2 separate regions of the Homo sapiens genome follow, and region 1 is linked to region 2. The links are contacts of gene promoters, found by promoter capture Hi-C in blood cells and fetal thymus (Javierre and others, 2016). All regions are on one chromosome and are shown on one strand. Each heading gives the region's core, a stretch centred on a gene start or on the middle of the fragment in contact. The rest is flanking DNA. Distances are from core to core; before and after follow the strand shown.

Evidence for each region. Contacts are between HindIII fragments. The CHiCAGO score rates a contact against its expected background, and 5 or more counts as called.
Region 1: a fragment that was not itself captured here is called in contact with the fragment with the promoter of PJA1 in region 2 in 1 of 17 cell types (total CD8 T cells); the score reaches 5.5 in total CD8 T cells.

Annotation. Positions count from the first base shown.
Region 1 is chrX:63,749,928-63,754,852 of GRCh38, reverse strand. The region is part of intron 1 of ARHGEF9 (Cdc42 guanine nucleotide exchange factor 9); the gene reads left to right. It overlaps LOC128031833, which reads left to right and starts at 189. Exons shown (of 1, transcript NM_001414729.1): 1 at 189-368. The coding sequence starts at 189. The coding sequence ends at 368. The HindIII fragment of the contact is 1,252 bases long and covers 1,129-2,380 here.
Region 2 is chrX:69,163,742-69,168,356 of GRCh38, reverse strand. It overlaps PJA1 (praja ring finger ubiquitin ligase 1), which reads left to right and starts at 2,904. Exons shown (of 2, transcript NM_001032396.4): 1 at 2,904-2,985. The HindIII fragment of the contact is 4,972 bases long and covers 2,500-4,615 here.

The sequences.
Region 1 (4,925 bases), core at 505-3,004, 5.4 Mb after region 2:
GACTCTGCCGACTTCAGCGCAAGCTAAGATTTCTCAGCTAGGGACAAACGATCAGCCCAATCCTGAGAAGGGGGGAACCAAGCACCCCGTCCCCATCCCCCTCCCCTCCCCCGACTAAACTCGGGCGCCAAACCCAGCCCTTCTCTAACCACCCTACTTCCTCCTCTCCTTTCTAGCATGGTGGCTGTATGGACAGTCTGACAGAACAGAGACTGACATCTCCCAATCTGCCGGCCCCCCACCTGGAACACTACAGTGTTCTGCATTGCACCATGACCCTGGATGTGCAAACTGTAGTCGTTTTTGCCGTGATTGTAGTCCTCCTGCTTGTCAATGTCATACTCATGTTTTTCCTGGGAACGCGCTGAATGGAGTCCAGCCACCTGAGCTGTCGCGAACTCTCGCTTTGATTTCATCCCGAGAGCCACCGAGAAAAAAAAAAAATCACAGACAGAGACAGGGAAAGAGAGAGAAAGAACAAGCTTTCTTACTCAGGGGGGAAAACGTTTTGAGCTTCAACATGGCCTCGCTGTGATATGTATGACGTTGGTATATTATCTCTCCCTAAATCTTTTGTCGTGTCTTGTCTTTTAAGAATGCCTGCGCGTATAGTTGCCTATTGCTTGAGTGAAATTGTTGATGAAGAAATGCTTTCTATTTAAGTGTGCATGCGTGTGTGCATTTTTAATCTATGTGGCGTTCATGGAGCAAGCTCTGCGTCCTTAAACAGTGGCTTTGCTGTCTGTGGTGTCTTAACTCATTTCCTTGAAGACTACCTTTAAACTCCATCAGGGAATTTTAGTCAAAATTTCTCTCTTGCCATCAGGAGTGCATTTGGGTTTGTTTGAGGGGAAAAGGGTTTGTGGAAGAGCATGATGAATATTTGACATCATAGGAAAGACAGTCTTTGCAGTGGATATTTAGAGGGAAAATAATCGATGCAAGGAATGGATTTAGGGAAAATGCTTCTTTAGTGTCTAAGGAGAAGCAAGAATTTGGGAAGTGACACGGGTGTGTTGTGCTGGCAGTTGGTGACTGTGTCCTTTGAATCTCAATTTGCTCTCCAGGGTTCACAATTTTCAATTTTGAAAGAAGCCACATTTAAAACACTTCTTGAACCTTAAAGCTTTAAGATATTTAAAATGTCAATTTCCTTGGAATCATGAAATAGTATGTGAAAGCATTCTCTGATTTTTTGAACTGGCAAGAGAGGACTTTGACAGGAGCTATTTGGGCTCCCTTTCCCAAAGATTGTACCCCTGGATTTGAGTTTGGGGATTTTGTTTGTCTCATCAAAAAAAAAAAAAAACCCCACAAGAAAGAAAAAACAGCTCTTTATCCACCTTGGGAATAATAGTATTTGGATATGGCTCCTTTGGGATAATCTCGTTTGCAATGATGTTCTTGAACTACATTTTAAATGTAACTTGATAAGGCTGATGAGAAAGTGGTGATGCTATTGTTTGCTCCCGTTTGTTACTTTAAGATCAGAGGTCTCTGTAATTGAAACATTCCCATAACAAACTGAAAGTCTGTAATGTGCTAAATTAAGAGTTATCAAATTTTGGTGCTAAATTTGACCACCAAAACCCAAAAACGTCTAGAAGGAAAGGGATGAGAGCATGGAAAACATGAGCTGGAAGCAACATTCCAGTTTGAGATATGACTGCTTGTCTGTATCAGATGGTGGTGGTGGTTTCTGTTGTTATTGCTATTGCTATTATTTTTATATTTCTGTTTCCTCTGAGAAAGCTCTTGGCAGAGCCAGGAAAAAAAATGTCTCATGCCAGTCTGTATAATACTTGTTTTTTTGCGTTTTGATTTTCTTTCTCCCCTGTTAATGTAGGCAGGCTTTCCCCATTCCATTGCTTACCTGGCTTGAAATAATGCCATTTATGGCTCATGTATTATAGCAGTGAATCAGGACACATACACATCTACACACATGCTCCCCCTCCACCCATGTGGGTGGCTGTTCATGTCTGATGTGCAAATCTGCTGGCATTATGCTGTCAAGTTCCATGTCCGGTTGTTCAGTCTCTTTGGAAATGATTATGAAAGGAGAGGGGCTGTGAAGGGGGCCTTTGAAATTGTCTTGGCCACAGGACCCAGAGAGTATTATTTAATGGCGTCAGAGGGTGTTTTGGGCCTCAAAGCATGCTATCCTTGACTTGGTGTGGGTGAGAAGCTGAGGTTTTTGTGAGATTAGTACCATGGTGTAAACATGATCTGGGAGGTTTGCTGGCATTGGTTCTTATTAATTACTCTTTGGTCCGTTTGTGGAGACCCCCTGGATGGAACTGAGAACCTATTTCTTTGCAAAGATAATTTAGTGAGTTTTTTTCCCCCCTTAGCTTCATTGTATTATTTAAAGTAAGCTTATATCTTTTCTGGGCACTTTGTTTTGATACAGTGTTGGAGAGTGGGGAATGGCTCTATGCTGGGCAGCTGCAGACCTGTTTTTTTGTTTTGTTTTGTTTTGTTTTTTGTTTTTTCCATTCAGCAGCTGTTTGACCTTGGACAATTTTTTTCCTCCTCGGTGGGTTTGGGATTCCCAGTAACATTGGCATTTTTTGATGGCTCCACTAGGTGACTTCCAAGTTCTTGCATTTTATGATTTTATGACCCCTAGACACTTGAAGTTGTGGGGGGTGGGGGGGATGAGCTGGAAAGACAAGTGAAAAGGAAAAGAAAATGTTAATCAAAGGGTGATGGGAGGAGGGGAAGGATATCTGGTACTACAGCCTGGATAACAAGTTTAAGCGAAGGGGTTTTTTTTGCCTAGTTATTTGGGAAGGAAACTGGGACAGCAATAAGGGAATGCTTTTTGACTTTTTTTCCCCCAAGGGGAGAAGGGGTCTCTGAGACTAGTCTTTGATCTAGGTTTATGACTTAAATAGTGTCACGAAATGCCTTCTCCTCTGTGAGCCTGACAGACCTTTGGCAGAAAGCCTCTGGGAATGTATGTGTGTGTGTAGGGTGTGTGGCAGTATGTTCATGGGGGTGTGTGGGGGGGAGCACACTCCTGAGTGTGGATGCGGGGTGTGGTGGTAGGAATGAAGAAAGACAGTATTGAGTTCCACAGTTCTGAATAGCCTCCTTGTGCTAGGACCTATAAGGATTTCACAAATGCTGGGATGGATGGGTATCACCCATGCCATTCCTCTTTTCACCACCTAAAACCCCTCAGGCTAAGGAGGTGTCTTGAATGAGCCCTTCCATTAGTAATTTAGCTGTTGAAATGGGTTAGCGCTTTTAAAATTGTCTCCAGGCAAATAAAGGGATGTTGCTAGCCAGATGGCAGGCCACCATCTAGCAACCAGAAGGGAATTTGAGAGTAGAGAACAAAAGGTAGCAGTGTGACTTTTTACTTGTGTGAATCCTAAAGGTTTGGCATTTCTGCTTCAGACTTGTGAGGATATTTTTCTCTAGCAAAAAGAGAAAAGAGTGGGAGAAAATGAGAAATGCAGCCCAGAGAAGCGGAACCCTATGCATTTTGACTTGTCTTCTTTTTTCCTTCCTCCTCTGCCTTCTCTCTTAATCTTTCTCCTTCTTCCTTTCTTCCCACCCCTGACACCACCTCCTCCTCCCACCTCCCCACTGTAAATGGGTGAGAAGTAAAAAAGAGAAGAGGACTTTTCCTCTCTGATTTGTCCCAACTTTTCCCAATAAAGCTCCTCCATTCCCTTCCCTCCTCTCTGGCCCCTTTGAGTAGAGGATAAGCTTTTGCCATGTAGGAGGGGCAAAATCCCAGCTTAGGGATTTTCGCTCCTGGATCCCCATCAAAGAATTAAAGAAAATGCCCTCTACTGGTATCCTAGCAACCCCTGTATCACTGAGCACCCACTGAGCTCCAGAGCCCACCCTTTAAAGGCCCAGGCACCAATAACTCTAGAAAAAGGGGACTAGAGCCTAGTGGGACTTGGAGAGATGCTTTTGGGGAGGGAACAAAGAAAGAACAGAATCCCAATTTCCTGCAAATGCCTCGGAAACATGTCCACAGCAGACATGTAGAGCCTAGCCTCGTCCAGCTATGAGATTATTTATTAGAAAACTCCTGGTTTCAAATTCCTTTCTAGTCAGTCCCATCTCCTTAAGATTAACTGTGCCATTTTACTGCCTAGCTTTAGTGCCAGAAGCTCTGCCGGTCCTGAAAAAACAATTTTTTTCACCCTAACTTTTGGCTGCATCAGGGAGGGGGTGAAGTGATATCTTGGTGGGAACAAACTGAACAGCATTCTTCTTCCATTGAGACAGCCTCCATCTGTCAGAACCTGCAGTGTGCTTGTGCAGTGTGCCCCAATTTTGTCTGTGGCTTGGGGAATCCTGATCAGCCTAGCTTTATAGAATTTGGGAATTTTTCTTTCTGTGGTTTTGGTGTAGTAGTTTCTGACGGGGGAGGCTGGACAAGTTGAAAGAGCAAGTTTGATAATGGAGCTGGTAAACAGGGCTTGGACCCTGGCTCAGAGACTCTCACCCACCGGTGTGTGTGTGATTCAGCTACTAGGGAGCTGAAAGATCCCAAAAAGGCTGTAGGTGAGGTGCTCTTCTGCCCTTGAGGTAAGGCCCAGATTGAGAGCAACCAGAGGGCACAGTCTGGTGGTTTGAAGGATGGTAACAAAGCATGTCTTCCTCTTTAGCCTTTGTCTGCCATCTCAGTTTCTGGTCCCTTGACCTGCAGAGTGCTTGCTCTGGGCAGGGATATAAGAATTGAGCCTTTTCTCCCAAAATAACTGCCTCCTCAGAAGACCTCCTACAAGGCATCTGGATCTTGCTCCAGTGGCTTTGCCCCAAGAAATGGGATGGAGGAGGGGAATCTTGGACTCTCTAGCTCTTATTTCCAGCTCTGCAACTTGTTCTAGGCCAACTGAGTCTCTGGCTTTCCAAGAATCCTTGATGAAGGTTTAGCTTCTCCAGTATCTGCT
Region 2 (4,615 bases), core at 1,655-4,154:
TATATGCACATATACATATATACACATATATACATACATATATATACACACACATATATATATATATATATATATATATACACATACACACACACACAAACATGAACAAGACGACAGCACATCAACTTCCAAATAAGGCTTATTTTCAAGAGAGAGGTCAAGTGAATAGGATGAAGTGAGGGCTTCATCTGTACTATTTTGTTTCAAAAACAGAAGGATCTGAGGATCTGGAGAAAATAAAATTTGCTCAATCCATGTGACAGGTGCATTAAAATGTGTATTTTATACTCTACTTTTCTGTATAGTTGACATATTTAAAAATATTTTTATAAAGAAAATGTATCCTCTCTTGAGTCCAAAAATACATATACAAGCTGGGCACAGTGGCTCACGCTTGTAACTCCAGCACTTTGGGATACCGATGCAGGTGGATTGCTTGAGATCAGGAATTCGAGACCAGCCTGGTCAACATGGTGAAACCCCATTTCCACTAAAAAATACAAAAACTAGCTGGGTGTGGTGGTGCACACCTGCAGTCCCAGCAACTCAGGAGGCTGAGGCAGGAGATTGCTTGAACTCGGGAGGTGGAGGTTGCAGTGAGCCAAGATTTTACCACTGTACTCCAGCCTGGATGACAGAGCAAGACTCTGTCTCAAAAAAACAAAAATACATATACATTCGGTATATTGTACTGTCCCATTTCCTCATATCGTTATTTATTTTGCAGTCTATTTGATTTATCTATACCATAAGAAATGAGGTGAAGTTTCCCACTATAATTGCAGACTTCCTGATCTCTCTTTATATTTCTAACAGTATTTGCTTTATATATTTTGAAACTACATTGTTTGGCACATAAATTTTTGTGACTATCATATGTTTTTTTTTAAAATGCACTGTTCTGCAACATGCTTTTTTCACTTAATATATTTATATTAGACCAGTACATATATACATATATACTTGCCTTCTTTCTTTCTTTCTTTTTTTTTTTTTTTTTTTTGAGACAGGGTCTGACTATTGCCCAGGCTGGATCACAGTGGCGCAATCTTGGCTCACTGCAGCCTCAACCTCCTGGGCTCAAGTGATTCTCCCACCTCAGCCTCCCAAGTAGCTGGGACTACAGGCACGTACCATTGCGCCAGGGAAATTTTTACGTTTTTTTTGTAGAGATGGGGTTTCACCATATTGTCCAGGCTGGTCTCAACTCCTGGGCTCAAGCAATCCTCCTGCCTTGGTCTCCCAAAGTGCTGCGATTACAGGTGTCAACCACCATGTCTGTACATGAGCCACCATGCAACATGTTTAAATAAATTTAAACAATTTATTTGTTGAGGAGAATTAAAGTTGTTTGCATTATCTTGCTACACTCCTATTCACATATCTTTCTCCATTTGTGTGTCTCAATAGAACACACAATAGAGCAATTGACTAGAAGTAGAATTGCTAGATGAAAATGTATCTCCATTAAAAAATTTGATAGTTTCAGATTTCTCACCAATGAAGTTCTATTATTGTTATTATTATCATCATCATTTTGAGATGGCATCTTGCTTGGTTGTCCAGGCTGGAGTGCAGTGGCGTGATCTTCACTCACTTCAGCCTCAACCTCCTGGGCTCACACAATCCTCCTGCTTCAGCCTCCTAAGTAGTTGGGACTACAGGCACACACCACCAGCTTGTCATATCTTTCTCAGTGAATAAAGCAACCTGTTTTGTTCTCTTTAGTTCTTTTTACTTTGAGTTCTCGATGTTTAGGATATTGATATTGTTACGAGTTTGTTTCCTCCTTCCTTTCCTTCCTTTTTTTTTTTTTTGCTTCTTTCCTTCCCTCATTCCCTCTCTCCCTTTTTTCTGCTAGTATTTTACTCTCATATATTTTTTATTCCTATTTCTGCTTTAGGTGAAACTCACATAAATAGAATATAACTTAGCTTTTAAAAACAAAATGCTCAAAATAAGAGTTTGGTTTTTATTAGGAGATGTTAACCCATAATGCATGCTGATATATTTGGATTCCTGCATTTTTGTTTTCTTTTTGCATCCTTTTTTTTGTACCCCCCCAGCAACATTTCTTGACCTTTGTTAAGAATGAGTTTTTCTCTTTGTTCCACATATTATTACTTTAATGGTTTGAAAGTTATACATTTTATTTCTATTATGTTGTTACCCCTAAGATTTTTGTTCTATTATGCATTTTGTTTCCAGTAAGAACAAAACTTTGCTACTGTTGTGAACATGGGAAATGTTTACATTGGCTGTAAATACTAGAGTTCCATTATAAAGCGCAATTTAAAGACTTCAGAATTCAGTAAAATGGTATAAATCCAAAAGGCGTAACTACAATATTTTTAACTGCAATGCAATAACAGAATATGAACCTGTGTTGTGTCCTATGATCTCTTGGACAGAGAAGCTTGGTTTTGTGATTAGCAGCAACAAATTCAACATAAACAGCTTCAATTTGCTTTAACCATCAGGTTAAAAAAAATTTAAGCTTACTGCAACCCTAAATATGGTTTCACAGTTTTAATACTTTCGGTACAACCATAACACGTAACATAGGATGTGATGTAGTAACGTAATTACTCTCACATTGGACTTAATCAGAAAGAATTTGCAGATTTTATTTTATTTATTAAAAAACCAGAAGGCAATATAGCTAAATGTTTAACATTAGTTAAAGCTGGGTGTTTGTGACATTTTTCGCTGTCCTTTTCTGTATCCTTGACGATTTCATCATTTAAGATGAAATAATGCTTTCGGGCCCACCCTGATTTGTGGAGAGCAGCTGCCGCCCCCGCCACATCAAGGAGGCGGGCTCCAGCTGACTTCACAATCACTTCCGCCGCCGCAGTCGCCGCCCGCCCCGCTGCTGTCTGGCGGGGGAGGAGCTCGGGACCGGGAGCAGCGGCTCTGGCGGTCGTGGCGGTCGGAGATCCGAGAGCTCTGCTTCTCTGAAAAGCGTGTGGCTTTCTGGACTTGGTGAGTGAAAGGCTGATTGTTTCCTCGATTCATCCGGGCGCTGGCGGTGGCGCGAGTGGCCGGGCGCGGGGCGAGTGGCCGGGCACGGGGGCGAGGATTTTGGGGGGTTCCTGGGAACTGCTTTTCAGGTTCGCCCCTCGGGAAGGGGTGGGGCGGACGCGGGACCTGACTGCAGAGTGAGGCCCATGTCCTCCATCGGCCTGTTCTGGGGCCACATCTTCCGCTGCCGGAACCCCTTTGGTGTGGCGCGGTCCCCACTCGAGTGGCTTTCATCGCTATTGGGAGGGCAGTGGTGGTCGCGGCCCTCTCCCACTTCTCCCTGCCTCTCCTCCCCTCTCCTTCCTTCTTCCCTCCTCGGCCCCTTTGCGGAGCACTCCGTGGCCTTTCTTCCCATATTTTGCTGTTGTTTTGCCAAATGGTAAATGGTTAAGATTTTTAGGTAAAAATACTGTTCCCAGGGAAAAAATTGGAAGGAAAAAATAATTATTCTCAGGGAAAACTAGACCCACGCACGCCCTTTTCTTTCATTTTCCCTCTCCCCTGCCACATCGGTTGGGGTCTCCCGTTTGAGCTGATGGCCTTTTCCCACCTCTTTTTATGACATTGCGTCCCCCCTACCCCCCACCCCCCGTGTGTCGCGAGCACGCGCCCCCGCACAGAAGCCTTCCATTGCAGCCCCCTCCTTGCCCCTCCATCCTCAAGGTTCCAGTGCTTCCCCTCCCCCGCGCATGCGCAGGCACACGCAGCACACACCCTCTCACACACCCTCACACCCTCACACCCTCCCATGCCTTCCCCCTCCTCTATCCGCCTACCACATACACACCTCTAGCACCGGCCCCCTCCCTGCTCGGCCTCTGCGTGCTCTCGCGAACACATGCCTATTCACACACCCCCTCCGGCTGCCCTCCTTCTTCCTTCCTGTCATATACACACATAAGGACATCCTTCTATCGCTGGCCAGTGACATACATATGTAGCCACATGTGCTCATTCATACCCCCTTCTCAAATGCTCTCCTCTATTGCTCTGTCTGCCACGTGTGTCAGACACAGCTCTCTTTTGCTGGTCCCTGAGGTGCACACACTCGCACTCACATAAATCCTTCTACGGGGACACAACCTGCCTCCCTGCTTGCCATATCCACACAGGCAGGCATCATTCTTTGATTGCCTGCCTCTGTTCCATCCACCTCAAGCACATCCCTCTCCAGTGCTGCGCACCCCCCACCCCCGCTTCCATTTGTGCCTGCTGCATTTGCTCACACTGACATTTCTCCATTGTTGCCTCCCATTTTGACTAACATACACACACACAAACTCTCAGACACTCCTCTCCATTGCCAACCATACACTCCTCTGCCTGTGACATACGCATAAACATGGGCATCCTTCTGTAGTTTCAGCTGCCTCACATACAGCTACACACACAAACACCTTCCCTTTCCTCATACATACACGCACCCCTCTCCTCCAAAGCCACCCCACCCATGCCTGTCATTTTCATACCCACATCCAGAATGGGTCTCATTCTAACACTCATACCCTTTCCCCCTACAAACGTAAACATCCCTCTGTTGCAGGATTACTGGTCCCCTTCCACCTGTCCCTCTCCTCTTGATAGACAGACA